Linked DNA regions of Homo sapiens: region 1 is linked to region 2. The links are contacts of gene promoters, found by promoter capture Hi-C in human tissues and cell types (Jung and others, 2019). All regions are on one chromosome and are shown on one strand. Each heading gives the region's core, a stretch centred on a gene start or on the middle of the fragment in contact. The rest is flanking DNA. Distances are from core to core; before and after follow the strand shown. Region 1 holds the start of CITED4 (Cbp/p300 interacting transactivator with Glu/Asp rich carboxy-terminal domain 4). Region 2 overlaps LOC105378671 (a long non-coding RNA gene).

The links. Contacts are between HindIII fragments. The study calls those that stand out against the background at their distance.
Region 1: the fragment with the promoter of CITED4 here is called in contact with a fragment that was not itself captured in region 2 in 1 of the 25 tissues and cell types used here (dorsolateral prefrontal cortex).

Annotation. Positions count from the first base shown.
Region 1 is chr1:40,860,881-40,867,820 of GRCh38, forward strand. It overlaps CITED4 (Cbp/p300 interacting transactivator with Glu/Asp rich carboxy-terminal domain 4), which reads right to left and starts at 1,483. Exons shown (of 1, transcript NM_133467.3): 1 at 174-1,483. The coding sequence starts at 1,247. The coding sequence ends at 693. LOC124904157 (a long non-coding RNA gene) reads left to right here and starts at 1,504. Exons shown (of 3, transcript XR_007066025.1): 1 at 1,504-2,230; 2 at 3,288-3,515; 3 at 5,868-6,051. RefSeq lists silencers at 1,270-1,349, 1,510-1,709 and enhancers at 1,810-1,869, 4,293-4,842, 4,843-5,392. The HindIII fragment of the contact is 13,673 bases long and covers 1-6,940 here.
Region 2 is chr1:40,149,768-40,156,378 of GRCh38, forward strand. All of the region lies in intron 2 of LOC105378671 (a long non-coding RNA gene), which reads right to left. Among named protein-coding and RNA genes, the nearest start is that of RLF, 8.3 kb to the right of the region's middle. RefSeq lists an enhancer at 3,688-3,747 and a silencer at 3,948-4,087. The HindIII fragment of the contact is 4,352 bases long and covers 2,502-6,611 here.

The DNA.
Region 1 (6,940 bases), core at 233-2,732, 710 kb after region 2:
CATAACAATTGCACAACCCACGAGATATTTTTGAAAGAAACTGTCGGTTTCCTCTCCTGGGCACTGCTGGGGACTGTGGCCCCCATGCCATCCAGTGTCTTCAGCAACCTTGGGACTTTGGAAGCTAAATATAGTCAGGGCTCGGGGTGATAAGGAAATGAAAACGGCAAGACTGTAAAGTGACCCAGTTTTATTTTGGTTTTGGAGGCCAGACAGGGCATTGCTCCACGGGTTCGGGCTGTACAACCTTCCCCTCCTTGAGGTGGGAGGCCCAGCAACCACAGGGCCCAGGCAGCGGGGTGGGAGGCTCAGGAGATGGTGGCTCTGGGGACCCGATCCCGAGGAGAGAGGGGGCAGCAGGCAGAGGCCTGCAATGGCTCAGATTGGGGGAAGAGGGCGGCGAGGGGGAGAGGACACGATCCAAGAACCAGAGTCCGAAAGCTGAAGCTGGTCCGGTCTCTTTCACTTTACGGCCGAGGCTGGGGTCAGAGAAGTGAAGCCAAACTGTCCTCCCGCAGGAGGCAAGGCCTGGAGGGACGCCAGGGTCCCAGTCCGGTGCCGGGCCCTGCGCACACAGCCGCCGCCTCCACCCTCGCGGAGGGCGCGCGCGGGGCCCAGTCGCTGGGTGCAGGGTCCGGCGGGCAGTCGGGCCCTTTCTCCTCTCCGGCACGCCGGGCGGGCGCCGGCCGCCCTCAGCAGCTCACGGAGCCGGCGGGCGGCGCGGACCCCAAGTCCGAGAAGCAGTCGAACTCGCTCTGGCCCAGGAAGAGCTCGGGCAGCTCGCGCACGCGGTGCAGCCCGAGCTCCAGCTCCAGCGACGTCAGCGCCTCCTCGTCGATGAGTTCGGCGTCCATGCCGCCCAGGGCGTGCGCGGGCGGCGGCGGGGCTGCGGCGCTTGGCGCCGGCTGCGGGCCCGGGGGGCCTCCCGGAGCGTTGGGGGGCGCGGCCGCGCGGCCGGGGTACGGCGTCGCCACAGGCTGCAGGTGCGCGATGCCCGCGGCCGGCGGAGGCACGGCCGGAAAGGGCTGGAAGGAGGACGGCGGCCCGAAGGCCCCGTACGCCAGGGCCCCGGGTTGGCGGGGCGGCGGCGGCCCCAGCGGAGCCCCCCGCGGCCTCAGCCCACTGTCCAGGCCCGGGCCCGCGTACGGCGGCAGAGTCCGGAGCGCATGAGGGCCATGGGCGGCCGCGGCGGACGGCGGCCTCTGCACCAGGCGGTAGCCCTCGGCGAGCATCAGGTGGTCGGCCATGGCGGCAGGCCGGCTGCCTGCGGGGACAGCGCGCGGTGGTCAGCGCCGGCTCCCCCGGCCCGGGCCAGCGGCTGCTCTGCGGCGGGAGACCCGGGCACCGTGCGGTCCCTGCAGCTCGGCCGGGCGGAGCAAAACCAAACCCGACTGGTGCCCCGGCCCAGCCCACTACTGCGCACCTTGCGGCCGCAGCCTGGGGTCACAAAGGCCCGCAACCTGTAGTGCTCCGAAACCTCCGCGTCGCGTAGCTGGGCTCGGCGTATTCTTATACCCAGAGGCGGGGCTTCCCCGCCCTCGGACGCTCATTGGCTGGGCGAGACGCTTCTGGGCGGGCCGCGCACGCCTGCATCTAGGTCTTGGCCCCGCCCCTCCCACTGGAACCCCGCCCCTTGGGACTCCGGCCACGCCCCAGGCTCTGAGCACCGCCCTGGGGCGGGGTATTTGGCACTTTCGGAGGGATTCGGTCTGGCCCTCAGGGCTTCGGAATCGGACTTGGCTGGGGTAGAGCTTGAACTGACCAGAAGGTGGGGTGGGAGGGCCAGAGTTTTAGGCCCCCCAAGAGCTGCAGGATGTCAGGCCTACGCAACCTTTTAACTTTCCAGGTAGAGACCGAGGCTCAGTGGCGGAAGAGGCTTCCTGGAAATACACAGCAAAGCCTTGATCAAAGTGAGACTGCACAGCTACACAGGGCGCATGCACCTTAGCGGTGCAGGGTCCCCGCAGGAGGTCAGCTGTCCATTCCCATAACCCCCAGGAGAGCCTGTTGCTCCCCCTCTAGTTCCCACTGCACCTTGTCTGTTGAAGCATGTACTTAGTTGTTATTAATTTATGGGCACGTCTCCTGAAGGACTTGTTCATCTTCTTCTTCTCAGCACTTGGCCCAGAGCCTGGCCCAGAGCAGGCTTTTAGTAAAAGCTGAGTGAATGAACTAATGATGGAATGAATTGCAACTCTCAGCTGAGCCTCAGTTTCTTCATCTGTAAAAGGTAAAGAACAGCAGCACTGACCCTTTGTGAGGGGTAAGTGAGGGCATGTGTGCACAGTGCCTAGCACAGTGCCTGGTATGTGGTAGATGCTCAAAAGTGTCCCTTAGATGAAAGAAAGGCTATTTAAGTTCTTTTTTTTTTTTTTTTTGAGACGGAGTCTCGCTCTTTCGCCCAGGCTGGACTGCAGTGGCGCTGTCTTGGCTCACTGCAAGCTCCGCCTCCCGGGTTCACGCCATTCTCCTGCCTCAGTCTCCCGAGTAGCTGGGACTACAGGCGCCCGCTACCACGCCCGGCTAATTTTTTTTGTATTTTTAGTAGAGACGGGGTTTCACCGTGTTAGCCAGGATGGTCTCGATCTGCTGACCTCGTGATCCGCCCGCCTCGGCCTCCCAAAGTGCTGGAATTACAGGCGTGAGCCACCGCGCCCGGCCAAGGCTATTTAAGTTCTGTCCCAAAGGGCCTTCTCTTGATAACAGCAATAATAACTTGGACTTTTAAAGTGCTTTACATTCTACAAGTATTTTGTTGGGGGCAGGGCATGGATTATCAGCCCCATTTCAGTGATAAGGAGAAGCACACAAAGAGAAAGTGGCTGTCCTGAGGTCACAGGCAGCCAGAGTTAGCGTGTGAATGCCATGTGTTTTCCAAGTCCTTAGGGCAACTGGAGTCTTTCCTGTGGCCAGGAGACAGCCTCCCAGAACCTTACCCTCCACGCATTTGACACTCTCTCTCCCTTCTCTGACCTTCCCCCGACCTGTGGCATCCTTGGGACTTCCTGGAACTTGGGTTTATCCAGTTGATGTAGAGGGGAGAGCCCTAGAGTGAGAATTCAGGGGCCCAAGGTCTTTTCTTCCCTCTTTCTTCTTATTTTTTTAAATAGAGAAGGGAGCGGGGGGGAGGGGCGGCGTGGGGGAGTGAGGAGGGCCTCAGGCTTATCTCGAATCCCTGGCCTCAAGTGACCCTCTCACCTCAGGCTTCCAAAGTGCTAGGATTACAGGCATGAGCCACTGCGCCCAGCCAGAGGCCCAAGTTCTAATCATATCTCTGCCACCCACAGGTGTGTGACCTCCACCACCAACCAGCTGTGACTGTTGAGTGTTGAGCGGGGAGTATTACTTGATTCCCCAGGGCCTCAGCTTTCTGCTCTGTGAAAGGGAGACGGTGATCTTGCCTGGTCAGCCTGAGAGCTTGTGGGTAGTGATAAATGACCATGGGTGTGGTCACATTTTTGCAAAGTGTAAAAAGCTACACCCTGGAATTTATTCTCCTGAATCTTTCTCTACAGGTAAGGCTTCTCACAGAAATTCTTAAACCTGGCCATGCCTCACACTTATCTGGAGATGTGGGGGGTAAGGGGTGGGTGAGTGGGGGCTTTGATAAAGACGGAAAATCTGCCCAATTTGGGAGATGAAAGTGAGAGGATTGCTTGAGCCCAGGAGCTCAAGACCAGCCTGGGAAACATAGTGAGACCGTGTCTCTACAAAAAGTTAAATAATTAGTTGGGCATAGTGGCATGTATCTGTAGTCTGAGCTACCCAGGAGGCTCAGGTGGGAGGATTAGCTGAGCCCTGGAGGTGGAGGCTGCAGTGAGCCATGATGGCACCACTGCACTCCAGCCTGGGCGACAGAGATCTTGTCTCAAAAAAATCAACAAGCAGGCCAGGTGAGTGGCTCACGCTTGTAATCCCAGCACTTTGGGAGGCCGAGGTAAGTAGATCCCTTGAGCTCAGGAGTTTGAGACCCCTGTTTCTGAAAAAATAAAAAATTAACTTGGCATGGTGGTGTGCACTTGTAGTCCTTGCTACTTGGGAGGTTGAGGTGGGAGGATCACTTGAACCTGGGAAGTTGAGGCTACAGTGAGCTATGATCACACCACTGCACTCCAGCCCGGGTGATGTAGGGAGACCCTCTCTCAAAAAACAAAAAAAAACAAACAAAACAAACAAAAAATTATTCTGCCATCATTGGTCTTAGGTCACCAGCATTTGGGAGCCATTGCACCACCAGATGATTTTCCATTTAAAAAAAAATGTGTGTGTAACTAATGTTTAAGAAGTTCTTTAGGCCGGGCATGGTGGCTCACACCTGTAATCCCAGCACTTTGGGAGGCCAAGGTAGGCAGATCACCTGATATAGGAGTTTGAGACCAGCCTGGCCAACATGGTGAAACCCTGTCTCGACTAAAAATACAAAAATTAGCTGGGTGTGGTAGCACACGCCTGTAATCTCAGCTACTCAAGAGGCTGAGGCAGGAGAATTGCTTGAACCCAGGAGGCGGAGGTTGCAGTGAGCCTAGATAGCGCCACTGCACTCCAGCCCCAGCGACAGAGTGAGACTCCATCTCAAAAAAAAAAAAAAAAAAAGAGAAAAGACAAAAAAAAAAAAGGAAAAATAGAGTAGGAAGGAGGTTGGGGTGCAGGGGAGGAGGGGAGCAAGTTGTAGTATTAAGTGGGGTATCTGGGGCAAAAGCGGGCTGGGCGTGGTGGCTTACGCCTGTAATCCCAGCACTTTGGGAGGCTGAGGTGGGTAGGTCACTTGAGGTCAGGAATTTGATATCAGCCTGGCCAACATGGTGAAACCCCGTCTCTACAAAAAGTACAAAAATTAGCTGGGTGTGGTGGCACGCACCTGTAGTCCCAGCTACTCAGGAGGCTGAGGCAGGAGAATCGCCAGAACCCAGGAGGCAGAGGTTGCAGTGAGCCGAGATGGTGCCACTGCACTCCAGCCTGGGCAACAAAGCAAGACTCTATCTTTAAAAGAAGAAAAAAAAAAAAAGCCGTATCAGCAGAGAGAACGCTGGAGCAGCACTTCTAAAACTGTAGCAACAAGTCCTGAAGTGTCAGCCTTACCAGGGACCCCATTAGAAATGCACATTCTAGGACCGTACACCAGACTCAAATCAGTTTCTGAATCAGAAACTGGGCTGGAATTCAGCATCTGTGTTTTAATAAGCCCTGCGGGTGATTCTGATTAAGGACCTCTGAGTTAGGGGGAAGCCTTAGGCAAGGGTGAGCCGCAGCCCTAAGGGAGTGTGGACAGAGTGCAGTGGGGCTAGGAGGGTAGCAGGGAGGCCAACTGCATTGAGGCCTTGCAAGGACTTTGGCAGAGGAGTGACATGATCTGGCCTTTGTTCTGAAAGTGTTGCTATGGTCAGACCTCATTTGTTTCTAGAGTTTCCATAAACTGCTTCCTCCAGGCTCCTTGGATGCCCCAAGCACATTTGCTTCTCAGGACTCTTGCTGTGCCCTCTGCCTGGAATGCCCTTCCTTCAGACAGCCACAAGACCTTCCCTGACCACCCTCTATCCATTCTGTCCCCTTACTCTGTTTTGCTTCTGTCCTTAGCACCCACCACCATACAGTCATGCCCTGCATTACATTTGGGTCAAGACAATGGTCCTATAAGATTACAATGGAGCTGACAAATTCCTATCACCTAGTGACCTTGTAGCCACTGTAACGTCATAGCGCAACACATTCCTCACGTGTTTGTGGTGATGCTGGTGTAAACAAACCTACTGCGCCCCCAGTCATATAAAAGTATAGCACATACAGTTATGTACAGTACACTTGATAATGATGATAAACAACTATGTTACTGGTTTACGTACTTATGATATGTTTTATTGTTATTTTAGAGTGGACTCCTTCTACTTAAAAAAAAAAGTTAACTGTAAAGCAGCCTCAGGCAGGTCCTTCAGGAGGTATTGCAGAAGGCGGTTATCACGTGAGATGACAGCTGCATGTTACTGCCTCTGAAACCTTCCAGTGCGCCAAGGTGTGGAGGTGGAAGACAGTGATATTGATGATCCTGACCCCAGGCTAATGTGTGTGTTTGTGTCTTAGTTTTTAACAAAAACAGTAAAAAAAAAAATATTGAAAATAGAGAAAAGCTTATAGGATAAGGATATAAAGAACAAAAACGGGCTGTGTGTGGCGGCTCACGCCTGTAATCCCAACACTTTGAGACGCTGAGGCAGGAGGATCACTTGAGCCCAGGTGTTTGAAACTAGCCTGGGCAACATAGCAAGATCCTTGTATCTACCAATAATAAAAAAAATTAGTCAGGCATGATGGCATGCACCTGTAGTCCCAGCTACTTGGGAGGCTGAGGTGGGAGGATCACCTGAGCCTAGGAGGTTGAAGCTGCAGTGAGCCAGGATTGTGCCATGGCACTCCAGCCTAGGTGGCAGAGTGAGACCCTGTCATAAAAAAAAAAAAAAGAGGGCCAGTCACGGTGGCTCATGCCTGTAGTGCCAGCACTTTGGGAGGCCCAGGAGGGCGGATCACCTGAGGTGAGGAGTTCGAGACCAGCCCGGCGAACATGGCGAAACCCCGTCTCTACTAAAAATACAAAAATTAGCCAGGCATGTTGGTGCGTGTCTATAATCCCAGCTACTTGGGAGGCTGAGACAGGAGAATCACTTGAACCCAGGAGGCAGAGGTTGCAGTGAGCCAAGATCGCACCACTGCACTGTAGCCTGGGCAACAGAGCAAGACTCTGTCCCAAACAAATAAATAAAGTGAAAGAAGGAAAGGCTGTACAATGTGTTTGTGTTTTAAGCTAAGTGCTATTACAAAAGAGTTTAAAAGTTTTAAAAAGTACATAACGTTACAGTAAGCTAAGGTTAATTTATTATTAAAGAAATAAATCTTTGTTATAAATTTAGTGTAGCTTATAAAGTCTACAGTAGTGTGCAATAATGTCCTA
Region 2 (6,611 bases), core at 3,428-5,927:
TTTTCTTCTTCCCACAAAAAATAAAAAAGAAGAATCTTTTCTTCTTCCCATAAAATGATTAATGTAGCTATTGTGTGGACAATTGACTCCAGGAGGGCCAGAATAGAAATAGCTAGTCCCCTAAAAAGGTTACTCCTTAAGTTTAGATGGGAGATATTAATGAATAAAACTAGGGTGATATAGCTGGAGGAAGTGAAAAAAAAAAAAGGTCAGCTTGGGAATATATTTTCAGTCAAGGGCCTGAATTGGATATGGTGAAACCCTGTCTCTACTAAAAATACAAAAATTAGCCGGGTGTGGTGGCACATGCCTGTAATTCCAGCTACTTGGGAGGCTGAGGCAGAGGAAGGAGAATATATATATATATATGGACCCCCCCTTTCTCTATTACAGAGATAAGAAGACTATGTTAGCAGAGTATTTTTGTTTTTTTTTTTTTTGACATGGAGTTTCACTCTTGTTGCCCAGGCTGGAGTGCAATGGCGCGATCTCGGCTCACAGCAACCTCCGCCTCCCGGGTTCAAGCCATTCTCCTGCCTCAGCCTCCGGAGTAGCTGGGATTACAGGAATGCACCACCACACCAGGCTAATTTTTTGTACTTTTAGTAGAGATGGGGTTTCTCCATGTTGGTCAGGCTGGTCTTGAACTCCGGACCTCAGGTGATCCGCCCGCCTCGGCCTCCCAAAGTGCTGGGATTACAGGCATGAGCCACTGCGCCCAGCCGTTAGCAGAGTATTGAAATAATTTAGGTCACAGCATTTTGGGAACACTAATCCTGAGTGCTGGGAGTTCATATTAATAGAGATGAATAAAAACCTATCAGCTCGTATTGGTCAGATAGCTGGAGACAATGCAAGAAGCATTGCAGCTCACCAAAAATGTTTGACCTCCTTAGCCCAGGTAATACTAGATAACAGAATTGCCTTTGACTATGTATTGGCTGAAAAAGGAGGAGTCTGTGCAGTAGCACACATCACTTGTTGTATCTATGTTAATACCTCTAGAGAAGTGCAGACTCAATTTAAAAGAATAACTTGGTTGGGCGTGGTGGCTCACACCTGTAATCCTAGCACTTTGGGAGGCCAAGGTGAGCACATCACTTGAGGTCAGGAGTTTGAGACCAGCCTGGCCAACATGGTGAAACCCTATCTCTACTAAAACTACACAAATTAGCTGGGCATGGTGGTGGGCGCCGGTAATCCCAGCTGCTCAACAGGCTGAGGCAGGAGAATCACTTGAGCCTGGGAGGCGGAGGTTGTAGTGAGCCGAGATTGTACCACTGCACTCCAGCTTGGGCAACAGAGCAAGACTCCATCGAAAAAAAAAAAAAAAGCCAGGCACGGTGGTTGAAACCATGGGGCAGATGTTGCAGTGAGCCAAGATTGCGCTACTGCACTCCAGCCTGGGGGACAGAGTGAGACTCCATCTCAAAAATAAATAAATAAATAAAACTCAAAAGACTAATGGTTATAAGATGTTAGAAAATGGATTCTCTAGGCTGGCACAGTGGTTCACGCCGGTAATCCCAGCACTTTGGGAGGCCAAGGTAGGTGGATCACCTGAGGCCAGGAGTTCAAGACCAGTCTGGCCAAAGTGGCAAGACCCCATCTCTACTAAAAACGCAGAAATTAGCTGGTCGTGATGGCACACCCCTGTAGTCCCAGCTACTCAGGAGGCTGAGGCAGGAGAATCACTTGAACCCAGGAGGCGAAGGTTGCAGTGAGCCAAGATCATGCCACTGCACTCCCGCCTGGGTGACAGAGTAAGACTCTGTCTCAAAAAAAAAAAAAAAAAAAGAAAGAAAAGAAAAGAAAGAAAGAAAGAAAAGAAAATGGATTCTCTAAATGACTTGTTTAGTTGGTTACCCTCAGGGCTAAGTTCATTTTTTCGTTCTGGTCTTCAAGTAATTGTTATTATAATCATAAGTACAGTTTCCATTTTCCTAGTTATCAAATTACTCATGATTCGTGTTTCAGCTTGCTTGTGATCAATGACTAAAACTAGAATAATAATTGCTTAAAAAGTTGCCTTAATTGAAAATAAGTCACACAACCAGAATCAGACCACTAAGTTATACTTTCCTTCTGTTGTTCATAATTAGGCTTTGGCTTCTTTCGGCTTATGAATTAAACATTTCCCCTCTCTGTGGGGCATGACTCTCTAGGAATGAGACTTCCTAGTGATGTGAGATATAACTACTCTCTAACAAATGCTTCTTCCGTAATGCTTTCTTCAAAGATCTTGAAGAAAAGGGGAAAATGTGAAAGAAAAGGAATAGTCTGTCTATTTGGGGCTTCTAAAAGCTTAGGTTTTGTGGAAGATTGACTTTGGAGACCAAGTCACAGAGCATGACCTCTTAATCTTGACTTTTTATTATAGATTAATTTCCTTTCTTATTTTCTTGTACCTGACTCAGATGGTACCTGAGATACAAGACTCCTTGACTGAGTCTATATAAGTCTCCTTGACTGATTCTTGACTGAGATATAAGACTCCTTAGGCCGGGCGCGTGGCTCATGCCTGTAATGTTGGTCAGGCTGGTCTCGAGCTCCTGACCTCAAGTGATCCACCCACCTTGGCCTTGCAAAGGTCTGGGATTATAGGCATGAGCCACCAAGCTCCGCCTTTAGCTTTACTTTTTGATGTTAACATGTGAACTAGTTAGTATAAATTAGAAAAAAAACAACAGGATCATAAGCTTGAATATTCCATTCAAATTGTCTGGTAAAATGAGTAGGGTCCAGGTGAGAGTCAGGGAATTCTTTAACTATGCCTTTAGATTTCACCTTGGTTCATAAACCAAGGTAGGTTCTCCCCTACCAGACACCAGCTACTCACAAAATGGAGCCAGAACAATGGGAGTAGAAGTGGGAGGAGGAAGAAAAAGTAGTTGAGATAATGAAGGATAAAGAGAAGGAGGAGTTGAGGAGGAGAAATTTCAGCAGCTTTTTTATTTCAGAAATTGTTTCAGAGAATCTTTTGTTTTCTTTCTGTAAAGAAAGAACTTTATCAAAACCTCTTTTGGAAGCCTCTAAATGCCATTGAAAATAACTTTTCCAATTGCTCTGTTTTATTTTAGAGCCAGCTTATTCTAATTGAGCATATAAGTAAACTAGATTAGGCATTTCAAAGGCACACCATTTTGGCCATTATAATTTGGAGTCATTGTGAGTTATTCACGAGCAGTTTTCTAAATACTTACCTGAAAAGGCATCATGTCATATGTGTTAACTATAAATCCAGCTGGAGTTTCTAATAGTGGGTCTCTCTTAAGGAGGAAGGTTCAGTTTTAGATGCACAGTTGCCCATAGTGCATCAAAAGACTTAGGGAAAGTTGTTTTGAGATCAAGAAAGTTGTTTTGAGATCCCTAAGACCAAAAGACTTAGTGAAAGTTGTTTTGAGATCGAGTGTGCTGCTTGCGAAAATAGCTCCTCAAGGTGTCACTCTTGAGTCAGTTCTTCTCACATACAAATCTCAATGATACCAACAAACTTGGATGCTTAAGATACAGGGTAATCAATCCTTTATGTGTGCTCACCAGATTAAGCAAGGTTTCCTTTAAATTCTACTTAAGGGATTTCCTGTGAGACTGTTACTTATCAGGAGTGATTAACTCAGATACTCACACTAGACCTTAGTTGCTTAAGGTGACTTTTAGCTGGGAGAAACAGTGTCTATTATCTTCAGGACTTATTTCATCCTTATACAGAGTATTTCATAATTTTGGTCACTCAAGAAGCAAGCTTGAATTTGTCAATTGAACCAAGCCTCAGAACCTGGCTAGCTTTAAATATTATAACATTTTTGCTTAAACCACAAAGATTTACTTCCTCTTTTTAAAAATAAACTGTTTTTCACCTTATCAACATTTTGAATGAGAGAAAAAGTTGTAAAAACTCTAAGGAGTAATTCAAAACAAAAACCTTAACCTCACAGAAAAGTGAAAGTCACAATTTTTTTTTTTTTTGAGACATAGTCTTGCTCTGTCACCCAGGCTGGAATACAGTAGTGTGATCTCGGCTCACTGCAACCTCTGCCTCTTGGGTTTAAGTGATTCTCCTGCTTCAGCCTCCTGAGTAGCTGGCACTACAGGCATGTGCCACCACGCCCAGTTAATTTTTGTGTTTTTAGTAGAAACGGGGTTTCACCATGTTGGCCAGGCTGGTCTCGAACTCCCAACCTCAAGTGATCCACCCACCTCGGCCTCCCAAAGTGCTGAGATTACAGGTGTGAGCCACTGCACCCGACTGAAAGTCACAAATCTATGATCAGCAGAATCTCTACAGAATAACAAATGAAACTCCTATCTTGCAGCAGAGCTTTAATTCTTACTTCCTCCAGTTAGAAGTGTATAGCTGGAATAAAGTCTGAATCCTCATCAAAGCCAAGAGGACTACAACCTGAGAGGAGCCTTACCAGGGATCCCCATTAGTTCTTTTGAGGGTGGATGAACAAAAGTTGTTCATGCTGGTACCAAGATTTTGGCTGTTAGTGAAATGACAGGAATCACTGGAATGAAGGTTTGCCTTAGGTCCCTTCATGGTCGCCAAAATGTCAACCTTAATAATGAAATTCAGGCAACAGTATTAAATATTGAGTTTATTCGAGTGTAAATTTGAGGGTGGCCATCTGAGAGGATATAGACTCCAAAAAGATGGGGTCAGTGCTCTGAAATGGAGAGGTTTGAGGGTGCTTAAATAGGTAAAGTCTGGGGAAGCTTACCAGGATTTCAACATTTTGCATACAAGATTAATGCATAGATACAGCAATTTGATTGATTATATGCAGTGTTTCTTTTGGGGGAAGGGTATATTTCACATTTCACATTAAGGATGTAATAGTCAAGGGGTCTTTTTTTCTTGTTTGAGCCAAGTAAAAGAAAATAGGAAGGAAGTTAATCTATAACAAAAGGCCGCCACGCACAGTGGCTCACGCTTGTAATCCCAGGGCTTTGAAAGGCTGAGATGGACAGATCATTTGAGTCCAGGAGTTTGAGACCAGCAACCCCATCTCTATAAAAAATGCAAAAATTAGCTTGGTGTGGTGGCATGTGCCTGTAGTTCCAGCTACTTGAGGGGCTGAGGCAGAAGGATCTCTTGAACCAAGAAGTTGAGGTTGCAGTGAGCTGAGATCACTGCACTCCAGACTGGGTGACAAAGTAAGACCTTGTGTCAAAAAAAACAAAAACAAAAAAACAAAAATGCCAGTAAACAAGAGGTCATGCTTTGTGACTCAGTCTCCAAAGTCAACCTTGCTTAGGGCCTAACAACTTTTAGAAGCTCAAAATAGACTATTTTCTTTCACAATTTTAAATTAAAATTAAGTAAATAATGCTAGAATTGTAAATTTCATTTAAAAAACAATTCAGTCTTATTAAATATTTTTGTACAAATAGTTATTCCCAATGCTAATATTCATTGTCTATTTATGATTATGTAAATGTTCAGTCTTACTCTCTACTCATGTTACATCTAGACAGATACATGTATATATCAGTGTATACGCATATGTGTGTATGGAGACAATTAAAAAAAGGAACATCTGCCACTACCAAGAAACAATACATGGTTATGCAAGAAAATGCATTTATGCTATCTAAGAGGAAGAGTATGACAAGCTAATTTGTGTTTTCTCTTACCCAAGTGCTTCTGTAGCTCGAACACACTCTACGTAGCATTTCAAAAACAGTGTGCCTATTTCTCTTAAGTAGCACAACCCAAAACCTTCAAGACATTAGGATGCAGTTGTCTTTCATTTTTTTAATGGTGGTAAAATATGCATAAGGTAAAGCTTATCATTTTATCCATTTTTAAGTGTATAGTTCAGTGGCATTAAGTACATTCACATTGTTGTGCAAGCATCACCACCCTCCATCACCGTAACTTTTTCATCTTCCCAAACTGAAATTCTACATCCATTAAACAATAACTCTGCTGGCCTCTCTCTCCCCCAGCCCCTGGCAACCACCATTATTCTTTCTTACTCTATGAATTTGACTACTCTATATACCTCATATAAGTGGACTCATACAACATTTGTCTTTTTATGATGCTTGTTTCACTTAGCATAATCAACATTTATCCATGTTGTAGCACGTGTCAGAATTTCCTCCCTCCCCCTGTTTTTTCAGGAATGAATTTCTTTCCTTTTTAAGGTTGAATAACATTCCATTGCATGTCTATACCACATTCATTTATTTATTCATTCATTCATGGACATTTGGGTCATTTTTATCGTTTGGTTATTATGAATAACAGTGTTGTGAACACAAATGTACAAATATTTGTTCATGTCTCTGGTTTCAATTCTTTTGGTGCCTTTCAGCTTTGAGTATATGGAGCAAGAGACGTGATAAAGAGGTTCCCTAAAGCCTGAATAGTAGTGGTAAAGAAAGCAAATATTTATCCGGGTGTGGTGATGCACACCTGCAATCCCAGATACTCAGGAGACTGAGGCAGAAGAATCTCTTGAACCCAGGAGGCAGAAATTCTAGTGAGTTGAGATCACCCCACTGCACTCCAGTCTAGTGACAAAGGGGAAACTCCGTCAAAAAAAAAAAAAAAGAAGAAGAAGAAGAAAGAAGGAAAGAAAGAAAGAAACAAAGAAACA